2 separate regions of the Homo sapiens genome follow, and region 1 is linked to region 2. Evidence: promoter capture Hi-C in 16 types of primary human blood cells and fetal thymus (Javierre and others, 2016). All regions are on one chromosome and are shown on one strand. Each heading gives the region's core, a stretch centred on a gene start or on the middle of the fragment in contact. The rest is flanking DNA. Distances are from core to core; before and after follow the strand shown. Region 1 has its middle 14 kb from the start of MON1B. Region 2 holds the start of CNTNAP4 (contactin associated protein family member 4).

Region 1 (5,312 bases), core at 616-3,115, 900 kb after region 2:
ATATAAGTTACCCAAAAATAATTAGAGAACAGTGAAGTCCCAGTCTCCTCTTTGGGCCTGATGATTACGTCTGTCAAATGTTCAGAAAAATTCTGAGATGCCTGCTGGAGAGAACGAGTTCTGTCAGTAGAGGAGGCAGCATTGAAGCTGTACTTGTAATATTTATTTGGAAGGAGAGGAGTACCCCATCCCGGAGGAAGGGCTTGAGCAAAGGCACTCCTGCTCCCTATCTGACTGGGGAATACCACTTGTAGGGTACAGAATCATACCATTATTTCAGAAAACTGAGGAGAGAGCTGGAGTAATACTACCAGTAAGAGATCCCACTTCACCTGACAATGACCCATCAGAGTGGTCAGAGAATCAGAGGCTACACAGAAGGGACTGTGCTTGGAGAAATAGGTCACAGATAATTAAACAAAAGAAGAATTTTTGTTTGTTTGTCTTTGAGACGGAGTTTTGCTCTTACGCCCAGGCTGGAGTGCAGTGGCCAGCGATCTCAGCTCACTGCAAACTCTGCCTGCTGGTTTCAAGCAATTCTCCTTCCTCAGCCTCCCGAGTAGCTGCGATTACAGGAGTCCACCACCACGCCCAGGTAATTTTCATATTTTTAGTAGAGACGGGGTTTCACCATGTTGGCCAGGCTGGTCTCGAACTCTTGACCTCCTGATCCACCGACTTGGCCTCCCAAAGTGCTGGGATTACAGGCGTGAGCCACCACACCCGACCAAAGAGGACTCTCTTTAATAATGCCCGTTTTTGTAGGAGTAAGATGGAATCTCATTGTGGTTTTAATTTGCATTTCCCTGATGATTAGTGATATTGAGCATTTTTTATATGATTTTTGGCCATTTGTATGTCTTCTTGAGAAATGTCTATGGTGGGAACGTAAATTAGTCCAACGTCTATGGAAAACAGTATGGAGATTACTTAAATAACTAAAAGTAGGTCTACCATCCAATCCAGAAATCCCACTACCCAAAGGAAAAGAAGCCATATAAAAAAAAGACACATGCACTCATATGTTTATTGTAGCACAATCCACAGCTGCAAAGATGTGGAACCAACCTAAGTGCCCATTGGCCCATGAGTGGATAAAGAAAATATGGCATATATACATCATAGAATACTACTCAGCCCTAAAAAGGAATGAAATAATGTCTTTTCCAGCAACTCGAATGGAGCTGGAGGCCATTATTCTAAGTGAAGAAACTCAGGAATGGAAAATCAAATACCATATGTTCTCACTTATAAGTGGGAGCTAAGCTATGAAGATGCAAAGGCATGCAGAGTGATTTAATGGACTTTGGAGACTCGGAAGAAGGTGGGAGAGGGATGTAGGATAAAAAACTACATAGTAGATAGAACAAGCACTACTCGGATGATGGGTGCACTAAAATCTCAGAACTCGCCACTGTATAATTCATCCACTTAACCAAAAACCATTTGGGGGCCAAAAGCTATCGAAATAAGATATATGTGATATCATATATATATGTTAAAATATTTTTTAAAAAGAAGATTCTAAACAGCAACTTTCTACCTCCTTCAGCTGACTCAGGAGACCATTAAGTGTGTCTCTATTGAAATCCAAAGAAGGAGAAATGAGGCAGATAGTGCTGATGCTATGGGCTTCTTTTTTCTGATTACATACAAGATGGAGTGAAGGAAGAAGTGACTTTGACCCATTCCGATAAACAAATCCAGAAGTCAATTGCATTGGTTTGTTGTCTTAATGATAAAGGAATTTTCCAGGGGGAAAGTTATAAGGAAAATATCTATTTAAAGAGGAAAAGTCTAACACCCATAATTGTTTCAAATTTAAGAAAAAAAAATCTTCAAAAGGAAAGCATTACTTCTAAGCTACGCGTTCCATATGCATTTTAAAAAGAAAATATGGGACAACCTAAAGCAGCTTTCTGTCAGCTATTGGAAATTTGCATGAGAATGATCAAAAAGGCCCTCTTCCCTCTCTCTGAGATGTATAAAGTCGTATCAGTCTCTTCTCAAAAGGCTTTCTGAGTAGGCAGTTACTCCTCTATCAAAACTGTTTACACTTGCAGGCAATATAACTCTCATGGCTGGTTTTATGAATTTCTTAGCCGTCTGAAAGGAAGTAGTTTGAAACATTAGAAAACCTATTCAAATCTTATTTTGCTGGCAGCAGGTAACTTGGAAATGGTTTTGTGCTCCTTCTTCTTTCCTAATTCTTTGAAGAGTGATGATACTGACGGGCTTCATTACTTCCACAGGGAAACAGATCTGGAGACCTGTGAAGACAAAGTTACTCACCCGTCATGTGAGGGTGTCATACACATGCTAGGTGTCATACAACACCTAGCATGATGAATGCTGCAATTTACACCGTCTAAGTTTTTGGTGGCCAGATGAGATTTATCCAAAAGAATACTGAGATAATTGTGGCCTGGAAATTGCTCATGTTTTTGCATTTTAATAGGAACACTGTAAGGGAGAGCTAAAGTGGGGAGGAATAGTAGATAAGGCGTGGGATTGGGTGGCATGAAATCTCACATGCGAATTCAAGTTTGACTTGGCTAAATAATTTAAACTTTCTAAACATCTGTGTACTTCAACTCTAAAATGGGTTGGCTATATCCATTCCAAAGGGTTGTTCTGGAGATGAAACAAGATAATGTATCTATATGTAATATATGTACATATTATATAAGATAATGTATATATGTAATATATACATAATATATAACATAATGTATATATATCAGACATTCTCTCTATATTACACAATATTGGTTCGATGGATTGATGGTGGTGGTGGTGGCAGTGGTGTTATTATTCTTACTATCCTTTAAGTATCCAATGAAAGAAAACATTTAAGTGAGTTAGTCAATTCTGAATTATCCATGATGATGGCAAAGGGTTAGAGTAGGAATTAATGTCATAGACAAGTAACATTATTCAAACATTATTGAAAACCAGCATTGTTTAATGTAGGATTTAATTATTGTTATGTTATTTAAAGTTAATGTATACTCATTTTCAAATATGTTTTAACATATAAAAAGCTGTTCATTTTTAAGTATACAACTTGATGAGTTTGGGGATAAGTATATACCCATAAAACTCTCACCACTACCAAGGCACAAATATATCCATCACCTCCCAAAATTTCCTCCTGTCTTCTTTATTATTATTATTTTTGGTGGTAAGAACACAACACCTACCCTTTTAGCAAATTTTAAGCATACAATACAATATTGTTAGCTGTAGGTTTTATCGTGTATAGCAGCTCACCAGAACTTACCTTGTGTAAATAAAACCTTGTAGGCATTAACCACTCCCTCTCCAACTACCCCTCACCTCAACTTCTAGCAACCACCATTCTACTCTCTGCTTCAGGGTTTCGCTATTTTAAATTTCACATGTAAGTGAGATCATACAGTATTTGGTGTTCACTGGGCAGAATGCCCTCCAGATCCATTCATGTTGTCACCGATGGCAGAATTTTATTCTTTTTTAAAGATGGATAATATTGCATTGTAGGTATGCACCATGTTTTTTTAATTCACTCATCCATCAGTGAATATTTTGGTTGTTTCTTTTTCTTGGCTATTGTGAATAGTGCTGCAATGAACATGGGAATGCAGATATCTCTTCAAGATCCTCATCTCAATTCCCTTGTATATATACCTAGAAGTGGCGTTGCTGGATTATACGGTAGTTATATATTTAATGTTTTGAGGAATATACACTGTGGTTTTCATAACAACTGGACCAATTTAAATTCCCACCAAGAGTGTACAAGTGTTTTATTTTCTCTGCATTCTCACCAACATTTATGTTTTGGGTTTTGTTTTTTTTTTTAATAGCAGCCATCCTAACAGGTATGAGGTGATATCCTATTGTGGTTTTGGTTTGCATTTCCCTGATGATCAGTGATGTTGAGCACGTTTCTATATACCTGTTGGCCATTTGTATGTTTTCTTTGGAGGAACGGCTATTCAGAACCTTTGACCACTTTTCAAATCAGGTTATTTGCTTTTTTTGCTATTGACTTGTATGTGTTCTTTATATATTTTGAATATTAACCAAATATGTTTTCAAATATTTAAATGACAATTGTATAAAGTGGGAAATGAAAGTATCTTAGAATTTTGTAACTTCTTGCTCTATGATATGGGAATTATACTCTCAAATTTATTTTTGTGTACATATAAAATTAGTTTTAGAACAAAATAATAGCTTTTGACTCGACATTAAGGCTTGATCTTGGTGAGATGATGGACCATTTTATCTCTAGGGCCTTATCTTTGAGGTAGAGTCCATTGGGAACTTTAAAGTTTTGGTTCAGTTTATGAGCCAATAGCAAATTAGGCTTTCAGAGGAACAGAGGGGATGTGAGTTTTCTATTACCAAATAGTCTAAAAACATTAGTATTTCTTGTTGAACTTCACAAAGTAATGACTTTTGTCAAAGGATAATTTCAAAAAGTTAAAACCAGGATTTTCATATAAACATAAAATAAAGACATACAAAGATTCCTTTGTACACCTCATCTTCAATTTAGAATTTAAGGAACAGAAATTTAAATAGTCACTCAATGGAATGTGAAAATTAATTTGTTAATAGATACAAACCCGCTTAATGTTAAAGATGACGAAACAGTCACCTTTAGCGTTTAGAGTTCTGATCAAACAAATCTAAAACTTAACGCACAAAATTATATTATCAATGTTCCCATCAAACAATAAAGAACAAAATTAAACACAGGTGCATTGTCTTAAATAAATAATCCTTGGATGAGACCTCTTAACAGTGACCTTCATTTGACACTGAAAATACAGGATCTCATCTTTTGCTTTATTTCTAAATTTTGAATGTTAATTTTTCTTAATACTTTTTTTCACCTGTTCTTGTTTGTTATGATCATGGTCCCTATTATCTTTTGACTGTTAAAATCCTCTCTTCTGATGTGTCTTTTATTTTTTTATGTCTTTTATAATAGAAAAAAATATTTTATAAAGAAACAAGATGTCAAATTTTGTTCACTTGTTCTTTTTATTTTATAGATAGGTAAAATGGAAATGGAGTCCATTTTATCTCCTATTCTAGAGCTGATTCCATCAAAACTAAAGATTAACTATTAAACTCTTATTACAACTTTTTGCATATTTCTTTAAATTTTAAGCTTAGAATAAATTCCTCTCACTGGGAGCAGTGGCTCACGCCTGTAACCCCAGCACTTTGGGAGGCCGAGGATAGTGGATCATCTGAGGTCAGGAGTTCAAGACCAGCCTGGCCAACATGGCGAAACCCTGTTTCTACTAAAAAAT
Region 2 (4,837 bases), core at 475-2,974:
GGCCAGGCTGGAGTGCAGTGGTGTAATCTTGGTTCACTGCAACCTCTGCCTCCCGGGTTCAAGCGAATTCCTGCCTCAGCCTCCCAAGTAGTTGGGATTACAGTTGCCTGCGACCACACCCTGCTATTTTTTTTATTTTTAGTAGAGATGGGATCTCACCATGTTGGCCAGGCTGGTCTCGAACTCCTGACCTCAAGTGATTTGCCCACCTTGGCCTCCCAAAGTGTTTGCTGTGTTTTCCTAGGGCCTAAGGTTTTTGCTGCCACTGACAAGGGTCAGGAAGGAGGTATACTCTGATTTAGGGGCAATAAGTCCTAGGGTGAGAGCAGTAAAACTGGAGTCAGAAAAGCCAAATCCAGTCCTCAGCATTTATTACTAACTCTATGACCTCTTCGAATCATTTAAATTCTCTGTTCTTGTTTTCTCTTGTAAAACAGGAAAAGAAAAAAGATGCATTCTGCTTTGTTTGCAGGCATGAGCTAAACAAGCATGTTTAGTTCTTACGGGTATTTCTGTCATTTTCTCACTCTTTGACAAACCTATCTGATCTTTGACAAACCCACTCTCATTATTCCATAAGAAAGTGGTGTTAAAGGCTTATGTTTCTTCCAATTTGTGATTACCAAGAGGCACTTAAGAACTCCAGGATTTCCATTTGTATAAAATCTAGCACATTATCAGTAAAACATCTTGACATTTATTTTAAATAGATTATTTATCTGCTATGAACCATGTGACATGCTTCTTGTTATGTGATAGTAACTCCATTATTTAGACATTTTAAAATTCCATTCAAGAAACAGTTGTATCCATGGACCAGCCATTCAAAGAGTAATTTTTCTTTAATCATTGATCTTCCAAATTCAACTTTACTCCTCTCTCCTTTAAGTCACCTGAATTACATCGTCACATTGTTCAGTGTTTGTGTGAATGTGTATGCATGTGTGTATGTGGTGGTGGTGGAGGTCCCTTTCTTCAGTATTCCCTCATTTCCTACTTTGGGCCTTTTTGGAAATGTTATTAAAAATTTTGATTATAGAATGGTACTTCATATTCACAGCATGATGCATTCATCAACATAAATCTAGCCAAAGCATTTCATTTGTGGATTTATACACCTGAAGCATTAAAATAAGAAATGTTAATTTCTTGCAGACTACTACCAGATGATTTTAAATATCTGCTAAGCAGGAATGTCTGTTCCCATGTGGGGAATTTCCATAATAAAATCCTGGCACCCTCGCTGAAGAGTACAGTTTTATAGAAACAGAGAAAAACAACAGCAAGTATTTTCCCTGAGGACGGTTTTAGCTACAATTTCCCAATGCTGCTTAGTTATTTCTGTCTTATTTTATGCTTTTGTTTTGAAACATAATGCAATTTTACCTGGATGCACTCCCGGATAATCAGGAATGGCTCAGTGTGTTTTCTGGCTCTTGCAAATGCAAGACCTCCAGAAAATCAGAAGGCTCCACCGCCTTGTCCCTTCCCCCACTCACACCTCCAGCTGGGAGAAAAGGGTTAAGGATTATTGGAAAATAGAAGAGAAGGGAGGGAGCCCCAAGGAGGCCCACGAACGGGAGGCCGCGCCTCTGGGTGCAGCGGAGCTCGAGCGCTGTTGTGTGTTTGGAAGGAAGGATGCTGCTGCCAATTTGTGGGACCGCTGCTGCGAGGAGTGGGCGTGGCCTCGGCGGTGTGGATGCTTGTTAGGAAAGATGCTGAGTGCTTTTCAGTGAGGAGTCAGGGAGGTGTGTGTGAGAGAGAGAGAGAAAAGAGAGAGACAGAGACGGGGAGAGAGAGAGGGAGAGAGAAGAGAGGGAGGAGGGAAGAAGAAAAGACGGAGGGAGGTGAGGAGGAAGGGAGGGGGAGAGACAGAGACCTAGAGGGGCTGAAGACCCAGACAGAGCTGGCAGAGCTACTGAGAAGAGGACTGGAGCGCTCTGAGAGCCTCTCAAGATCTTTTGGGGGAGCCCAATAAATGTGAACATGGGATCTGTCACGGGAGCTGTCCTCAAGACGCTACTTCTGTTATCTACTCAAAATTGGAACAGAGTCGAAGCTGGGAATTCCTGTAAGTATACAGCAAATGATTTAAAACTTGCTGGGGGGCTCTCTGCAAAACTTTGATTCTGTTGGTTTGATGATGATTATTTGCAGCTGGGATTGCTGCAAAGCGTATTGCTGTAAACCAAGCATCACTTAAAAATCTTGCCAATGTGACCGGTTAACACTTGTCTCTCCTCTTGGTCTGGTCAAAATAGGCAAAGTGTCATTTCTCTTTTTGTCTACTCGCAGAATCTTACCCTCTGGTCTTTGAGTATTCATTGAGAATGCCCAAGTTCTAGTAAAACATGAAATTAGCATCTTATCGGGGGAATAGCCTGTGAATATCTTCATTTCTTCTTTTTTAAAGAACTACTGAATTTTATTGGAATTATGTCTAAGAGGAAAACAACTGGCAGACTTTACATTATGCTGCATTGGCTTAGATTTCTGAAGTTTGCAATTGGGCAGACCAGTAGCTGCCTGCATCTTTAAAATAATGCAGGCTAATAACTGAAATGTACTGCAGGCTTCAGGAGCACCAGCACTGGCTGAGGCGAGTCTCAGTATTAAGAGCTGTGCCCTCGCTGCTAAGAGAATGAGACTTAGCGCTCTCCGGAAAGAGGAGCCTCTTCCTACATTTCGCTTAAAGGAAAACCAGTCAGGTGGTCTTTCAAAAGTAGGATTCCTTTGTGGTTGAATGCTTAACTGCATAAATTTGTAATTGAATGTTCTGATGAAATAGAACCTATTTAGGGAAGATTGAAATCTTATTTATAATTTAGATATCATCCATAATAATTTGGCAGACTCCCTTCATCCACTCTTTATTAGAGATAGAAAAAGTTTTAAAAGTTATCTTTGGCTTAAATTCTCTAAATGGGAGAATTTTCCCCTCCTGATTAATGACAAACAAGCTTGGCAAATACAACTTTTTATTTTTTCTTGGATTTTAAAGGAAAAGCTCATTTGCTTTCCAAGAACTGGCTATGAGGCCTGTCCAGGAATTTATGTTGCTGCTGTATCATCAGGCTTAGATTTGGGGAACAGAGGCAGTAATCAGACATTTGCTATGGCATATCACTTGACTATGTTAAGAGTTCTGATATGTGAAAAACATGACAAACTCATGGGCACAAGTCAAATGTCCCCTCACAGTACCTGGCTCCCGTGATTTCGTGTTTCAGTTCAGAATGGGCTCATTTAATGTCACAGGGTATCCATCACTCTGAAAGAAGGAACCTCACTTCAGGTGCTGCACATCAGATTCAACTTTAGTTTGAGTGTTGTGATAATCTCATAAGTCAATAAAATGTATAATTTCACCTAGTCAAAACCTTGGAATCTTATAATGGTAGCATTAGAAAAACATTGCATCATACAAGCAAACAATAACAACAACACCCACACACAAATGGAAGTTCTGTAGAAAAGGCATAAGTAATTCATCTTCCAACCACTAAAGTTCAACCAAAAAGAAAAGCACTAGAGGTCACTCTTACAATGTAAAGCACATCACCCCAAGCATCCTTCCCTCAAGAAAAGCAGAGCTTAAATCTGGCCTGTACTCCATTCAGTCTTTCCACTAGACTGCCTGTAGTTGGGTTTAAAATACATTAATCTAATTATTTGGGCTGCTAGTTGTTTATGTTTGCTTGTTTTCTTGAAGCTCAATAAAAAGTGTAGGGTGTACATCAACATTAAATAGCTTTCTTTTGCCATATATCTTCTTAGAAAAGAAAAGGTGCTGAAAGAGATCTGAGGAGAGTGTAATATTTATGTCTGCTTGGCTCTGGTTGGATCCCTCACTGACACTTAAAATTTCAGTGCTGGTTCTATATTCTTTCAGCCTTGGTTTGTTAAGGAAGTAGTCTAATGCTCTTTTAAACATCTGATGAACTTGCAAAACCTATACGATTTTTCATTATAAAAAACATTTAAAGTTGGAGTTCTTGCTTACCATGCATGTGGAGTTGACTGTTCTTCAAGTGTCAAAAATAAAATGAAATGACCTTATATAATTAAAGTTGCACTCAGTAATTTATTGTGAATATTTTGACAATATGATTTGCAGCAGTATGTGTAAAAGAAAATATTTCATTTCTCAATTTCTATTTCATTTTTCAATATTTAAGAAGTATTTTCTTTTTGGAAGAAGTAAGGTCTACTTGTACCAAGCCATGGTGGAAAGTACTTCATATGTTTCATCCTTTTTGGAAGGACAAGTGTATATATATTTCCCAGCAAGACTGGAATTTAGTGTAAGGACAAGCAACTATCAACCAGCATATGCATTTCTAAAGTATTATAATGACTCCAATAATTCTTCTGGACAAGACTTTATATTAAGAAAAAGTGAGTCAGTCTTGACTACCAATAGTAATATTGGAAATAACTGAATATAAATAAATAAAATTAAAGGACTAGAAAGACTTTTCCCCTTTATTTACAGCTGATGAGCCAGGAGCAAATCTGTCATCTACAGAGTCAGCCCAAGGTTGCCAGTTTGAAAGCTTTCATGGGACAGAACTCTGCAAAACCAGTACAGCTCAGGGATTAGGTGCACTTTAATTTGAATGTTAATTGATCCAATTAAACAGCAGGGAAACTTTACATTAGAAGGATTCTGTTCAAAGACAAACATATATGTTCACATATATGTATATGTGCTCATTTGTATATAGGTATATGTGTATGTAGATATCTAAACTACTAGACTCGTGCTCATTTGTATATACGTATATGTGTATGTAGATATCTGTAAACTACTAGACTCATGTGCTTGCATATTTTT

Evidence for each region. The method cuts DNA at HindIII sites, captures the fragments that hold promoters and counts their contacts. A CHiCAGO score of 5 or more calls a contact.
Region 1: a fragment that was not itself captured here is called in contact with the fragment with the promoter of CNTNAP4 in region 2 in 1 of 17 cell types (megakaryocytes); the score reaches 5.5 in megakaryocytes.

What each region holds. Positions count from the first base shown.
Region 1 is chr16:77,174,129-77,179,440 of GRCh38, forward strand. No RefSeq gene overlaps it. Among named protein-coding and RNA genes, the nearest start is that of MON1B, 14 kb to the right of the region's middle. The HindIII fragment of the contact is 6,600 bases long and covers 1-5,165 here.
Region 2 is chr16:76,275,677-76,280,513 of GRCh38, forward strand. It overlaps CNTNAP4 (contactin associated protein family member 4), which reads left to right and starts at 1,725. Exons shown (of 24, transcript NM_033401.5): 1 at 1,725-2,071. The coding sequence starts at 1,987. The HindIII fragment of the contact is 3,956 bases long and covers 1-2,958 here.